Regions from separate parts of the Homo sapiens genome. Here region 2 is linked to region 1. Evidence: promoter capture Hi-C in 16 types of primary human blood cells and fetal thymus (Javierre and others, 2016). All regions are on one chromosome and are shown on one strand. Each heading gives the region's core, a stretch centred on a gene start or on the middle of the fragment in contact. The rest is flanking DNA. Distances are from core to core; before and after follow the strand shown. Region 1 holds the start of NDST4 (N-deacetylase and N-sulfotransferase 4). Region 2 holds the start of LOC105377392 (a long non-coding RNA gene).

Evidence for each region. The method cuts DNA at HindIII sites, captures the fragments that hold promoters and counts their contacts. A CHiCAGO score of 5 or more calls a contact.
Region 2: a fragment that was not itself captured here is called in contact with the fragment with the promoter of NDST4 in region 1 in 1 of 17 cell types (total CD4 T cells); the score reaches 5.7 in total CD4 T cells.

What each region holds. Positions count from the first base shown.
Region 1 is chr4:115,110,790-115,118,693 of GRCh38, reverse strand. It overlaps NDST4 (N-deacetylase and N-sulfotransferase 4), which reads left to right and starts at 5,074. Exons shown (of 14, transcript NM_022569.3): 1 at 5,074-5,250. The HindIII fragment of the contact is 2,024 bases long and covers 3,887-5,910 here.
Region 2 is chr4:118,262,744-118,270,647 of GRCh38, reverse strand. LOC105377392 (a long non-coding RNA gene) reads left to right here and starts at 4,615. Exons shown (of 3, transcript XR_939113.3): 1 at 4,615-4,864. LOC124900765 (a long non-coding RNA gene) reads right to left here and starts at 4,697. Exons shown (of 2, transcript XR_007058244.1): 1 at 4,666-4,697; 2 at 3,877-4,197. The HindIII fragment of the contact is 751 bases long and covers 3,472-4,222 here.

The DNA.
Region 1 (7,904 bases), core at 3,825-6,324:
CCTATATGACAAAAAGAATTTTATCAAACTTATCACTGTGATGCTATGATTCTGGTCTGCAAGTAGCTTTCTCACTTTGAACATTTAGGACTTCAAATTAGAGAATGTAAAATGACTTGTAAGGCGTAAGTCAAAAGGAAATCACCATCAAACCCTAATAAAATTTGGCAAATGAAAATTCCAAAGAAAAGAGAAACAAAGAAAGAAACAAACTGAAACTACCTATCCTAGATAAAACTTATACAACCCCTATAAGGTATTTAAAGATCCTACTCTGATGAGACACTCCCGCTGGAGTTGGGGCCCAATTAATGCGCTTTATGAACTCTCCTCACCTTTGTGTACCCTCTAAAAGAGAAACTAACTGAAAATTCTCATAGCAAAGATCAGACCATGGAAAAATCATAAATTTAATTTTTACTGTCCTCCCCCACCTCACCCTGGGTCTCTCACTTGAGTGCTAACATTTTAGTGACAACAAAATTTCTTATGATGCAATGGTGTTTTGGCCAACAACTGCTATTTATTAAAAATCATGTTCCTTTAAGTAGTTGTCTGCCAAACTGGAATTGGACTGTTTAGTCTGTTTGTTCCCTCACTTGGCCTTTCAAGTTTTGCATCTTCAAAGGATTTATTTGAAGCATTAACATGCTGATTTCTCTCTTGCTACAACAATGCACTAGAGTGATACTGGCAAAAAGATTCTTTCTTCCAACCTGCTCTTCCTATTTTTTTCCCTTTTTCTAATAACTTGCTAACAAGAGATCCAGATGTGTAATAAGATAACATCTAAGTCTGTGACTGGGGTGTTTGTTATCCACGTAATGCTATTTGGCACTTACGATTTTTTTATCATGTATTATGATACCATTGAAGCAAAAGTGACTTTATGCAACTTCTTTCTCACATAAGTTCTTATCCTAACAATTGCTAGCAGAAGATTTTTTTCTCTTAATAAAAAGTTTTTGTATTAGTCACTCACAGCCCAATTAGAGGCTTCCCCTGCTCCCTGAAGGCATAAACTTTGAACGTAGAAGTTTCTTTTATTCATGCTTTTTCTTTTAAAAAAGAGTTATAGCCTTTCGTGTTGGTACAACAGGATAGTTGCTCATGTTAAAAAATAAAATTAAAAGAAAAGGATATAGACAGAAAGTGGTAGTGTGGTAATAGAATCTTGTATTTATAAGTTTTAGTAGTGAAGACTGTAAATTAAACTAAACGCATTCAATCAAAATTGTGAGAACTATAAATTTATTTGGTTGTGCTCATTCAAAATTATTTTTGCTCTAAAAGTAACAAAAAAGATGAAACTTGAAATGAATAAAAATGTACATTTAAAGATCTAAATATCTTCTGTTTATAGCCTGTATATGCATGTGAATAATTTTTTAAAAAGTAGAAATTATGAAGTACTTGGAATCTTGTTTTAGTATTTTCTGTGCAAACCTTTATTTATTTTAGAGGCAAGCATTTAAAACTTACCATTAGTAACAATTAGCAGAACAAAATGAGAAAGAAAATGATGAAAATTTTTGAAATTGTTAAATTTACCGAGTTTTTTTGAAGTTTTCTAAGATTTTTATTAGTAGATATTACTACCCTCTCATTTTCACTGTAATAAAGACTTGACATACAAACAAAAAAAAGACCTTCCTTTTAAAATAAACATCTTTTTTTCTTCTATTGAGTAAGTATATACAAAGATATATGTGTGTATTATAAAGAACAAAGCGTATATATGTATTTATAAATTAAATTGAAAGTATATTATGTTCTTAGATATATGTTATAAGTGTATATTATATAATGTTTTCAATGTTTTTCACTTTTAAAATTTCCAAATAATGCATATAACACATACACATTTCTTGAACTTCCAAGGAAACGCCACTGAAAATTTAAAAGGTAAATTCAAAGATAAATTCAGTTGAATGAAAAGGTTTTGTAGTGGGCAAATACTACTTTAACTTTTGCTGAGTCAAGAGAGCAACTGAATAAAAATATGTGGAGCTCTAAAAGTTTATTAGTTCAACAAGTTCAATTCAATTTTTTAAAAATCCATTGAGGTCTTAATATAAGTCTGGACCTACATCTTAATAGATAAAAGAACAATTATATTATACTTTATAGAGTGCTTAAAGAAACTTAAAAGCATCCACTTTCTTCTTAAAAGTCAACTATAAGCAATTGGGTGAATGCTTTGCATTGCGTGTATTGTTGAAAATGAGCTGACTTGATGCTACATTTTGATATTTAAGTGCAAGCCCTGTAAATTGTGGAACACAAGTTAAATGATTTAAAAAATTAAAACACTTTGAGCAAGTAATTATTTCCTCTTTTCTCTCTTGTGTATTACATTTCTTCCCAGAAATGTCCAAGGTCATTTATTTCATTTTCCCAACATGACAGATGAGAAAATGATAAAAGATTACAAATTCACAAATATGTTTGTTTTAGTCATTTGCGAATACAATATACAAAGAAAAGTATAAGAAAAATATTCAAAATACTTTGAGGATTATTTTGTTTTGTTTTAGTGTGAGTGTTGTGAATTTCTCTGGTTTTCCCCAGGAATAGAAAAGAAAGCACTTTTTGGTGGGTTTCCATTCATTTATACATATGTATATGGTGGGACCCTCTGCCTTCAGTACTTAGTGTATTTCTGAATGAAAAATGAGGCAGGGAGAGTAAAGTTGGGTATTTTTTCCCTAAATTGAATTTTAATTACTCATCTCTGGATTTTTTGAATTTCAAAGTTCATGTTTCACAAATATTTAAAAGAATTTTACCTTTAATAAGAATATCTTCTATTAATATTTTATATAGCATTTTTACACTGTGAAAGTAGTTACCTCTTCAGCTTAAAACATTGTTTATAGTTTAATGCTAGAGAAGAAGTTGATCAACATTTTTCACTTGTAATCATCAATGGATATCAGCTCTAGTTTATCACTAGAGCCGAGGATATAAACCCTGCTCCATGTTTTAATGTGATGGGTTTTATCTTCAGATCACTGTGTTGCCATTTAGTTCCAATAAATGAAAATACTCTGATAAAGTGGCATTCTTGAGTTGTGAAATAGAACTATGTCAATAATATAAAGATGTTGAGCATTTATAATAGTTTTTCATTTAAATTATTTTTCTAAAGTTAAGACTTAAAAATAATTACCCAACTTGAATAAAGAAGAAGGCATTATTAGTAAGCCAAACTACATACAACAGAAAAATCTTCAATTGGCTTTTACAATTTATGCTATTTTATGTTATTTATCAACTGTTAGTGTTTCCCATGATGCTACTCTAGTAATAATTATTTTATTATGACATCTTTGAAATATTTAACTGCAGTTTATTTATCCATTTTGAATTTTGATGTGTATCACTCTGAAAATTCTGACTTGACTTCAATGCATCTTTGCATTCCAAATGTTTTAAAAGGTAGTAAGAAGTACCTGAACGCTTTAATTATTTTTAAAATATAAATTTTTTCTTTAATATATTTTAGCCTGTGCACCTGAAAAACTAACTGATACATGACCTATGAGTTACTAGGTTTTATTTATTGCTTATGAATAACTGGTAAATATTTTTTCTAACTTGCTAGATTTTTTTTCCCTATTCTCTGTATGGCATATGTCTATGGCTTGCTAACCCTCAAAACCTTGTGCAGTATAATAATACTAGTAATCCTGGATGCATTAAAATTATTCTTCTGAAAGACCACATCATCAATAAATGCTGAGTTTTGAAGGACTCCCTCCTACCCCTACCTTCCAGTCTTATAGAGGATTTCATTGAAACCACACCAGTATTTCAAGTGGAACTACTACGTACAACCAAAGACACCCATATACCTGAGGAGGACTTGGAGTTGAGAAAAGCTTGTAGTTCTGTTCTGCAACCTATTAGGGGTGTTGAACCAAATTCTCATTAGCCTATCTTATTCCACTAAATTAAATGGTAGAAACTAAGGGATGTACTAAAGCAAGAAAAGCCCAGGGAATCATGTAGTCTGGAATGAGGAGAAGTACCTGAAAGCACTTTACTTTTACTTTTACATATATCCTAATGAATAAGTTTAAAGAACTTTACATAATGTATATAAAAGTACTTGATAATATCTTTATGTGTTTACACGAATTAATAGAAAACAAAGAGCAGGTAATTTTCAACTTATATTGCCACGTTAAAAAGAAGAAAAGAGACATAGAAAAGAACTTTTCCATAATAATCCAGTAGTTTACCTTAATTACTAAAACAATGCACACAATAAATTCACACGCACATACTCTTTCTTTTCTTCTAACATTTATCATGGTCTAAAATGCTGTTATTAACTTCAGGACTATGTAGCTTACTAATACTTGTCCGAGTTTCCTATTGCTCATTGTTGGCTTTTGTTGAGTTTGTAATTTTTGTGTTTAACTGGCACACATTTACAGCAGAAAATCCTGCTTTGAACTTTTCTTATTTTGTCCAATAGAATCTCGTGGAACAGTGTCATAGCTGCAAAGTGGAATTCTATCCTCAAATTTCATAGGAAATAGTCGAACTGTACAATGAAAGATTATGCAAATCTTCAAGGAGCATCTAATCAATCACCGCGGTGTGAGCGGAATGCAGCCCATCGCTGAATTAGCTTCTGTTGGAATGTATTCATGTGTAACATCCCACTGACTGGATGACATCACAACAGCTCCAGGTCCTTGAAAGTCTTGAGGATGATTAGCTGAAGGAATTGGCTGTTTCTGCCAATCATAATCCGGCAAAGCTGCCTTTATAGTTCTGGAGATGTGAGAGAGAGGGAGGGAGGGAAAGACCGACTACAGCTAAACAAGAGGCACAGCAGCACTAGCAACAGCAGAGCAGGAGCAGCTGGTATTCCGGTGATTAAATAGTTCTCATAGCCTTTTTGCTGTACTCGGTCTGCTCCCTGGTGTAATTCTCGTGTCCAAGAAGGAAGCTGCATTTTAACGGTGTGCTGAACAGAGGTTTGAATCATTCCAGCTGGCTGCTTGTTTTGAAAAGGACAATGTGTGTATAAATAAAAGGACTCTGCTGGAAGAGTTCAGACACTAAGACTGGAGCTAGAGAGTGCTCTTGGAATATTGTTGAGGCAGATTGCATGAACTGAAAGCTCCTTCTAATTAACCTGGAGCCAAGTGAACCTGAATACTGGATATCTCATGTTCTAACACGGGATAAATTCAAGTTAGAAAAAGACAAAATATTGAAATGCTTCTCTAGGTAAGTTACTGCTTAATTTGCTGAAATCGAGGTGTGTATCATAAATGAATATGCGTTGCTTAGCTATGTAAACAAGTCGGACACAATAAAGTTTTATTTGTGAAAGATTTATGTAGAAGCAGATAATATCTTAAAACCAAATTCAATCTCCCTTTTCCGCATGTGTGTGCTTACCTGTCATCATGCTTTATAGAAGTTATATTTGCACGTAAGTAGAAAATACAGTCGTACATAAAAAAAAAGAGATACAACTTGATAAAATTTAAACAGTTGCCGGAACATTTGCATAGGAAATATCTTATTTGATAACAACTTTAGCCTTTTCATATTAAAAGCACCAATTTTACAAACTCAACATCCAAAGTTAACTGTAGGGTTATAAATGTTTCCCTAATAAGTGTTACTGAAAACATGGCATTCAAATTACCGAAGATGGGAACTCCTGTTTTTTGGACCTGAGATTTATAGGCATGCTCTGTACTAATGGTCTGCTTTAGAGAAACAGCTGTCACAGACATGTGAAATTGTATGTTACAGTCATAAATTGCTTATAAAGAAATAGGTGCTTTCCTCCTACCTCCTATTAGAAAAGAAAAATAAATTCTTAGAACAATATATGTCATATGCCCTAAGCATAGTTTCCTAGGAGGACAGAAAGCTTTATGGTATACCTCCAATTTCCTCAAGCACAGAATAAGTTGGAAAACAAGAAATGTTATTGGAATATGGTTTTACTCATTCTTTTCAATATTCTTTTTGAGAAAGCTAAATAAGGAAAATTAAACCTTATTTTTCTTAGAATTTGTCCTGATTAATAAAATACTATATTCTACAGAATTCCTGTCATAGTTTTTTTAAGTGATTATATGTTTTGTTTATTATGATAAGTTATACTGTGAGTTCTCATACAGCTTTAGAAAGTTTTAAGTTTATGTTTTATCATGTCTCTTTCAAACTCACCTTTGCTTGTTTTCGTGGTGCCTTTTATCAGAATATTTTTCATTTGCACAGTTTCATAAATGCTTTAACATAAATTGCATACCAAGATACTGATGTGTTTCTGTAACTCTCAGAATGATTTTAGTTTTCCACTTTCTCACCAACAACATGGTTAAAATCCTGTGAGGTTTCTGCCCCAAGAGGAAATTGATAAAGATGAAAGTTATTGTAATTGGTTGAATTTCCCCAAAACTAGGAAGCAATGAATTTTCCCACAACGATGTAAAGGTTTTTTTTTTTTTTTCATATCAAAAGAGTAATTTATTCTACTCTATTAAAAGTATGCCAGTTAGCTATATCCCAGTGTCACATAGGTTCTGTGCTGGTCATTTGTGTGCATGAGTGTGTGCGTGTGTGTGTGTGTGTGAGTAGCAAGTTTATGTAAAGAATATAAAGTCCACTGACTACAACAGTCTAAGTTTTCAACTGGAATTCATAAAAAACTAATTAATAAGCAAAATATAATTGCCATTTACATTTATCTCAATATATAAATGGGAAGTTAAGCCTACTATTGTTGACATTTTTAAAAATAAGAAATCGTATGACAATACATTATGATGATCAATATTAAACAATGTTTACATTGATAGACATCTCATAATAAGCTAATTGGGAAGATTTTTAGAAATTGAATACTAAGCAGAATGGGCCTTTTAACTCTATCTGAATGGCACCTGGTCACCACTAAGACTGATACATAAAAACCCTTTGAAAAAGTTATAATATATATGAGTTACTAATATAACTTGAAAATCACCCTTAGATCCAATTTAGAAACTCAGGCATTATTTTTAAATAAAAGGAAGGTAAAACCTCCTGAAAATTTGAATTTTTTAAATTGATTAATGCAAATATATAAATAATAAATAAAAATGCAAATATATGTAAATTACATTTTGTTTTCTCCAAGATAGGCTTATTATTTAAGAAATGTGTAATTTTAAATATATTATCCTAAACATCAAAAGGAAGTATATGGGGACTATTTTTATATATAAATATATTAAGTCATAATTTGGAATTTCTATAATTGATAATCAAAATAGAAACATATGCTCATGCTTATGTTCACCTCAGGAAAATAAGGATCTTTCATTTTTTATTTGAGATTAAAAACTGTTATACCTATTCTTTCTTCTCCCAAAGAAAAGCATTCTATACTTGGATTTAAAATAAACATAATTCAATCTCAATACTAACATTAGTTCTTAAACGTACTAAATAAATGTTTCCAACCCAGTAGAACAGTTGTCCCCAGTAGGTTAAATGTTCATATGATCCCCTTGTACTTTCTGTTTGAGTTGAAAGGGGGCCTTTGGAAATAAAATCCAAAGATCAAACTTTGTGTGCATCATTTACAAGCAATTACTAAGGGAGAAGAGAGAAGCATTTAGCATACTGTGTTCAAACTAGAAGATTCTGGCTGGTGCTGCCTTCCCAGATTTAGAAAGCAGCTGGGGAAACATAAAATAAAGCTAGAATATCAGCCCTGGCTGGAAGCCAAGACAGAGAAGCTGTGCACCCAGAAGGCTAATTCTTTCTGGGCTAAAATTCATTGATAATGCATTATGTTTAGAGTCTAACCTGAAGTGTTATTTTTTTTCTCCAGTACAAACTGTGGGATATTTAAAGAACAAATATATTTTCTAAGT
Region 2 (7,904 bases), core at 2,598-5,097, 3.2 Mb before region 1:
TTTATGTGGCCACTAGATGGCTCTGTTACACTATTATTTAGGTATATGTTTAAATCCCTTTGAATTTGTTACCTTATTATTTAGGTATGTGTTTAAAGCCCTTTGAATTAAATACATTTGTTCATTGTGCATGCATGTATTAATGTATATGTGGATAATAACATGAAAATGTCAGCATATCTAGTATCTCTAAAAGCCTATCCTCTGGACTCTAGTTTTATATGATGAATGTCTACAGTGAATATTGAAAACTTCAGGTTCTACCAGAAAGGAACAACTTTCTCCAGATGCATATTCTAAACATACCATTGGAATACACCAGACCTTTTTAATATGTGAACTTGATATACAGATTTTTAACATACTGAATTCATCAATTAGAGATTTAATTCATTTCCTACTGTCTGAAGTAGTTAATACACTGTTAATGTGTTGTATATCAAACTAGACAATGATTCTGTTGGAGAAATAAAATATTTCTGCCCAGTCTACTGGAGGGCAAGAATGTAGTCATATTCATCTTACCTGCAGTAGTACTTTGGAACATGCTCAATGAAACGTTTGTTGAATGAGGAAGCCAGGATGATAAAAGTGAAAAAGAATTCTGGGAAATTATACATAATGTACAGAAGGAAAAATGAATGCAGGGTAGTACATTTAAGCAAAACTGGCAAACTTTTTTGAATGTAGCTTAGTATATTACGGCAAAGTCGACTAACTCTTTTGGCCTCAGGCACATCTTACCTCTCTCTTTGCCAAAAAGTTTAAATTAAGTCTCCCCGCTGCAATAGGACTATATTTCAAATTTTATAATGGAAATCATTTCAGAGAGAAAAATTCTATGGCAAACTTTGAAACTAATTCCTATTAGTTAGTATTTATAACTGGAATAGGTCTTCACTGTCTCTACCAAAAAATACAAAAATTAGCCAGGCGTGGTGGCAGGTGCCTGTAATCCCAGCTACTCAGGAGGCTGAGTCACGAGAATCACTTGAACCTGGGAGGTGGAGGTTGCAGTGAGCCGAGATTGTGCCACTGCACTGCAGCCTGGGTGACAGAGTGAGACTGCATCTCCAAAAAAATAGAAAATCAAAAACGTAAAATAAAAGACTTCAGATGCTATATAAGAATAAATCCAATTTAAGTTAAATGATGAGAGCACATAGACACATAGAGAAGAACAGTACACACTGGGCCTACCTGAGGGCGGAGGGTGGGAGGAGAGAGAGGATCAGGAAAAATTACTATTGGGTAGTAGGCTTAGTACCTGGGTGATGAAATAATCTGTACAACAAACTCCCATGAAACACATTTACCTTTGTAACAAACCTGCACATCTTGCACATATACCCCTGAATTTAACATAAAAGTTTTTTTAAAAAAACATGCTATGGCTGATACATGCTATAGATGAAACTCAGAACCATGTCACTAAGTGAAAAGAGGCCAGACACAAAAGACTACATACTGTATGAATCTATTGATATGAAATGTTCAAAAAAGGCAAATTTACAGTGACAGAAAACAGATCAATGGTTGACTGGGGCTGGGTTGGGGGCAGGGCTTATCTTCAAATGGGCATGAGGAACCCCGTCTATCAGCCTTCTATCTGGGTGTCAGAGATCTTCTGACATCAGATCGCCATGATGGCTATTCAATTCCATTAATGACTCAGCAGTTATGAGATGTACACTTCACCTGGGTGAGTTTTACAGTAGCTAATCATACACCCTCAAAAGGTCTATTTAAAAAGTCATAAATGAATAGATTAATTTCCACCTTCCTGGACAGTGCTCAACCAGCCTTTCCATATTCACTCTTTAAAGTTCACTCTGTCACCGTGTATTCTACCTGTAACCTGTTTCTGGATTCTGCATGCTAACATTGCGTTGAGAATTGTGCCTCTTTATTCAGGAATATGATTGGTCTATAGATTTGTTTTCTGCCATCTTTGTAAAATTTCAAACAAAAAGTTTAAAATAAATGTCATACTTACACTATAGAGAGAAAAATAAATATATTTCATCTCCAAATGAACAATCATTAAAAAAACCTTCAACTGAATATGTAAGACGTGTTAGTAGTTATTTCTTAATTATATAAGTAAAACTATAGAAAACTAAGTAGAATAGAACCAGATAAGTGACTTTTGTATTTCTCTAATTTAAAACCCTTTTATCAGGATGATAATTTATGTAAATGGGCAGTATTTCTTAGAAAACAGAAGGTCTAGAAAGAAATCTCTGCAATTGAGGACTTAAATTTGATAAAAGCCATACGAATTTTGAAATACCCACCATTCTTTATAGCACTGAACAGAACTTACTGAAAAGGACTAAGAAAGTAAATTATATAAAATAACACAAAAGGGTTCTGAAAATAATTATTTACAGTATCTTTTTTTTTTTTTTGAGAGTCTTGTTCTGACGCTCAGGCTGGAGTGCAGTGGCAGATTTCGGCTTACTGCAACCTCCGTCTCCAGAGTTCAAGTGATTCTCCTGCCCCAGCCTCCCAAGTAGCTGGGATTACAGGCGTACGCCACCACGCCTGGCTAATTTTTGTACTTTTAGTAGAGACGGGATTTCGCCATGTTGGATAGGCTGGTCTCCAACTCCTGACTTCAGGTGATCTGCTCACCTCAGCCTTCCAAAGTGCTGGGATTACAGGTGTGAGCCACTGCACCTGACTACAATTATTTACAGTCTCTAAGGGAGATAGTAGTAATGGTGATAACTAATGTTTATTGAGTACTTATGTGCTCATTAACTCATTTAATCCTAACAATTGTATGAGCGCTATACAATTATTGTCTCTAATTTACAGATGAATAGATTGAGGCACAGAGAAATAATGTAATTAACCTAAGGTTTGAAGTGGATTTGAATGTAGTCTCACTGGCTCAGAGCCCATGCTCTTAACTGGTGTTGTGTGTAAAGGGAGAAAAATGATACTAGGTATAAAATAAGTCTGAGCTTTGCTACTTGTGTGACCTTGGGAAAATTATCTATCCATTCCAAACCTGTTTCCTCATCTGTAGAAGGAAACCAGCAGTATCTTCCTTTTGGTATTATTGTTAGGATAACTTATAAGAATTATCTGGTAATTATCATTTAAAAGTTAGAGGTTTTGTTTTTTTGTCCTACATTTAATAATTATTTTGCTAATTTTAATTATTATTTAAAATTGAATTTATTTTTTGTTATTTAGAAGACAGTTTTAAGTCTTTGTATGATTGGGGAAATATATATTTTTGTTAATCGAATTTATTGATTTTTATGAAAAGTTATACTTTTTTCTAGCACTTAAATATAAGAACATATGTATGTTAAAACTGTCATGTCTTTTCCAGTTACTTATTGTGAAATTAATTCAACAAGTATTTATTGAGCACTTATTATTTCAGAGACTAGACCCATCGATGTGGGGATATATTGATGAAAGAAAAGACAAATAGTTTGCTTTCGAGAAGCTTATTCAAGTAGGAGAAGACAAAAGATCTAATAAAATTGGTAAACTACAGAATTAGTTATAAGATTTTAAGTGCTATGGTTCAAAAAAGATTAGTTCGGAGTAATAGGAATCAGGAGTCAGGGAAGGGAGGAAGGGGTGAAATTTTATGTAAGGTTGTCAGGGTAGGCCTTATTGAGAAAATGACATCTGAGCAAAGACTGAACTACAGTGTAGAAGTTAGCCACGTTGATATTTGTGGGCATGTTAACATGAATGTCTTAAATAAGATAGTCAGCAAGGGAGCCAGTGCAACTGTTGCAGAATGAGAGTTTGAAAAGAGGAGCTGCGGTTAGAAAGGTGATGAATACCACATCATGTAAGGCCTTGCAGGCCACTATAAGGACCGTAGCATAAAAAGTAGAGCTATTGCAGGAATTAAAGTGCTTTGATTTAATTTGTAAAAGGATTATGTCCGGACTTGGTGGGTTCTTGGTCTCACTGACTTCAAGAACAAAGCCACGGACCCTCCCGGTGGGTGTTACAGTTCTTAAAGGCAGCGTGTGCAGAGTTTGTTCCTTCTGATGTTCGGATGTGTTCGGAGTTTCTTCCTGGTCTCGCAGCTTGTTTTTTCCTTCTGGTGGGTTCGTGGTCTTGCTGGTTTCAGGAGTGAAGCTGCAGACCTTCATGGTGAGAGTTACAGCTCATAAACACAGTGTGGACTCAAAGAGTGAGCAGCAGTAAGAGTAACTGCAAAGAGCAAAAGAACAAAGCTTCCACAGCGTGGAAGAAGACCCAAACAAGCAGGCTGCCACTGCTGGCTAGGGCAGTCTGCTTTTATTCCCTTATCTGGCCCCACTCACATCCTGCTGATCGGTCCATTTTACAGAGAGCTGATTGGTCCGTTTTGACAGGGTGCTGACTGGTGCGTTTACAATCCTTGAGCTAGACACAAAAGTTCTCCAAGTCCCTACTAGATTAGCTAGACACAGAGCACTGATTGGTGCATTTACAAACCTTGAGCTAGACACAGGGTGCTGATTGGTGTGTTTACAAACCTTGAGCTAGACACAGGGTGCTGATTGGTGTGTTTACAAACCTTGAGCTAGACACAGGGCGCTGATTGGTGTATTTACAATCCCTTAGCTAGACAGAAAGGTTCTCCAAGTCCCCACTAGACTCAGGAGTCCAGCTGACTTCACCCAGTGGATCCTGTACCTGGACCGCAGGTGGAGCTGCCCGCCAGTCCCGCGTAGTGCGCCCGTACTCCTCAGCCCTTGGGCGGTCGATGGGACTGGGCGCGGTGGAGCAGGGGGCGGCGCTCGTTGGGGAGGCTCCCGCCGCGCAGGAGCCCAGGTGGGGGGAGGCGCAGGCATGGGTGGCTGCAGGTCCCGAGCCCTGCCCCGCGGAGAGGCAGGTAAGGCCAAGCAAGAAATCGAGCGCAGCGCTGGTGGGCCGGCACTGCTGGGGGACCCGGCGCACCCTCCGCAGCTGCTGGCCCAGGTGCTAAGCCCCTCAATGCCCGGGGCCGGCGGGGCCGGCTGGCTGGCCAAGCCGCTCCGAGTGCGGTGCCCGCGGAGCCCACGCCCACCCGGAACTCGCGCTGGCGCGCAAGCGCCGCGCGCAGGCCAGGTTCCCGCCCGCGCCTCTCCCTCCACATCTCCCGGCAAGCTGAGGGAGCCGGCTCCGGCCTCAGCCAGCCCGGAAAGGGGCTTCCACAGTGCAGCGGCAGGCTGAAAGGCTCCTCAGCGCGGCCAGAATGGGCGCCGAGGCTGAGGAGGCGCCGAAAGCGAGTGAGGGCTGTGAGGGCTGCCAGCGTGCTGTCACCTCTCAGGATTACCCTGGATGTTGGGTTAATAGCGGATTGTAGTACAGATACCTGGAAGTAGGGAGGATAACCAGGATAAAGATTATGGCATCTTTTTTTTTTTTTTGAGACACAGTTTTGCTCTGTCGCCATGTTGGAGTGCAGTGGCGCGATCTTGACTCACTGCAACTTCCGCCTCCTGGGTTCAAGTGAGTCCCCTGCCTCAGCCTCCTGAGTAGCTGGGACTACAGGTGTGTGTCACCACACCCGGCTAATTTTTTATTTTGAATTTTAGTAGAGATGGGCTTTCACCATGTTGGCCAGGATGGTCTCAATCTCCTGACGTTGTGATCCACTCGCCTTGGCCTCCCAAAGAGCTGGGATTACAGGCGTGAGCCACCGCGCCCAGCTGATTATGGCATCTTAGAATGAGGTGGCAGCCCTGGATTTGGTGAGAAGTGGTTGGTTTTGGATAGAAGTGAAGATTGAGCCAACAGGATTTCTTGACAGATCAAATGTGGGGTTTGCTAACCAAGGGATTCACTATCCTATAGTATTCACAGTTCTTGCCTACACTCAAGGAGATAGGATCATATAAAGGCATCATCACTCTTAGAGTGTGTCTACCACAAGAATGGAATAGGTTTTTTGGAGGAAGATGGTAATCCACAGATGAACCTCACCTGCAGACTCAACCCTGACTACATCACTGTGTGTACACTGGATCATCTTAACTGAGGCAGAGCCTATCACTAACCTCAAACCCTAGCTGAGTGCCCTTTTTCCCTGAGTATCCATTGTTGCTAATTGGACCTGAAATGTAATGCTTATGTAGTGCGTAAAAATTCCATAATTCACAACCTGTCCAAAATAGAGCTTTCTTTAGTTTTTAATAATTGTCCCCATTCAAGATATGATTTTTAAATATCTTTTAGGAAAACCCAGTCAAAGTCAAGATTGTTCTCTCCATTTCTTCCAAAGGTGGTCATGGCAGTGGACATGAAGTGGTAGGGTAACATCTGTTCTCAGCCATCATCTCTCCTCTGCTGGCATTGGATGAACCTCAACAGGTTCAGTCTTTGTAAAGTGATCTCTAGATTCCACGGTCTAGGCTCCTTTCATGGCCCGTAGTCATCAATCTGTGCAGGTTATTCAATGCCGTCTTTGTCCCAGCTGCCAGGTCCCTTTGGATTTAAAAGGCTTTTCTTGGTGATTCCTGCAGCTTATCTGGAGAAATGGAACTTTTATGTGTTCTCCTGTGCCACTGTGGAGCTTGTGCAAACCTGTGTATTTATACCTAGGATACCATGAGCTATCTCTACTGCTTGGAGGGAGGGCCTTCACCATTGGTGGGCAGAGTACACGGAGGAGGTTGCTGCTTTGCAGAGTTTTAAATGGAAAGTAGGGCACAGCTTTCTCTACTGTTTGATCCTCAGACTTAAAGATCTCTCATCCTCCATTTTTAGGGCTCAGCTTGGTGTCAAGGAGGAAGGCAGGGGGAGAAGAAACCCAAACTTGAATTTACCTCTCTTTTCCTTTTTGCAGTATTCCTTCATCTCTAGCCAGGCAACTCCATTCTGGGAGTAGAGTGGGAAGGTGGTGGAGAGGAGGTGTAGTCTGGCTTCCCACTTATTTTCTTTCTAGCCTATTGTTGATGGTGTAAATCTTGGCTTTAGGTACTTAAGTTACTTCCAACTCCCGTGCCAATGGCTCTCATACTTTTTAGTCTGGGGATCCTTTTACATTCTTAAACATTGTTGAGAACCCCAAAGGGCTTTTGTTTATAAAACAAAAGCATTATATTTATCAATATTATAGATAAATTTATCAATATTATAGATAACTCTATATAGATAATATAGAGTTATAGTTTTTAATATTTAATTTATTAGAAATTAAAATGGAGAAATCAAAAAACATTAAAAAATAACAAGAACAAACCCATAATAAAGCTATAGTTTTAAAGAAAAAATAGCTATGTTTCCCAAAACAAAAGAAAATGAGAAGAATGGCATTGTGTTACATTTTGGTAAATTTCTTTAATGTTTGGCTTAATAGAGATTGGATTCTCCTATCTATTTCTGCATTCAATTTATTTTGATAGGTTGTTTTGTTGAAGTATATGAAGAAAATCTGGCCTCATACCCTTATGTGTATGGGAAAGGAAAGTATATATTTATATACCCATATGTGGGAAAAGAAAGTATATATTTATAGCCTTTTCAGATAATTGTGGATATTTTTCTTTGATACTACATTCAAAATTGACAAGTGCTATTGTCTTAAAGGATATTTTTGCAATGTGGAATCTGAAATAAATCAATGAACTGTTCATACTGTGCTACATTAAAATCTACTGGTTTATCTTACTCTGAGAATAGACCTTTCACTATTATAACGATTATGCTATGTATATGTATACTGTATACTATGTATATGTGTTTTGTGACCTCATGCATTGCTTTTTTGGAAAATGGTTTACTGAGTTATGCTGATCTTTCAAACATTGACACCTTTCATTATATAATGTTAGAAAATTACGTTTTTTAATATCACCACCAATCTCATCAGAAAGATCTTTAAATATGAGTATGCTGTGAAGCTCATGGTAGCAATACAAGTTGTACAAAATTCTAATTTTTACTTGAAA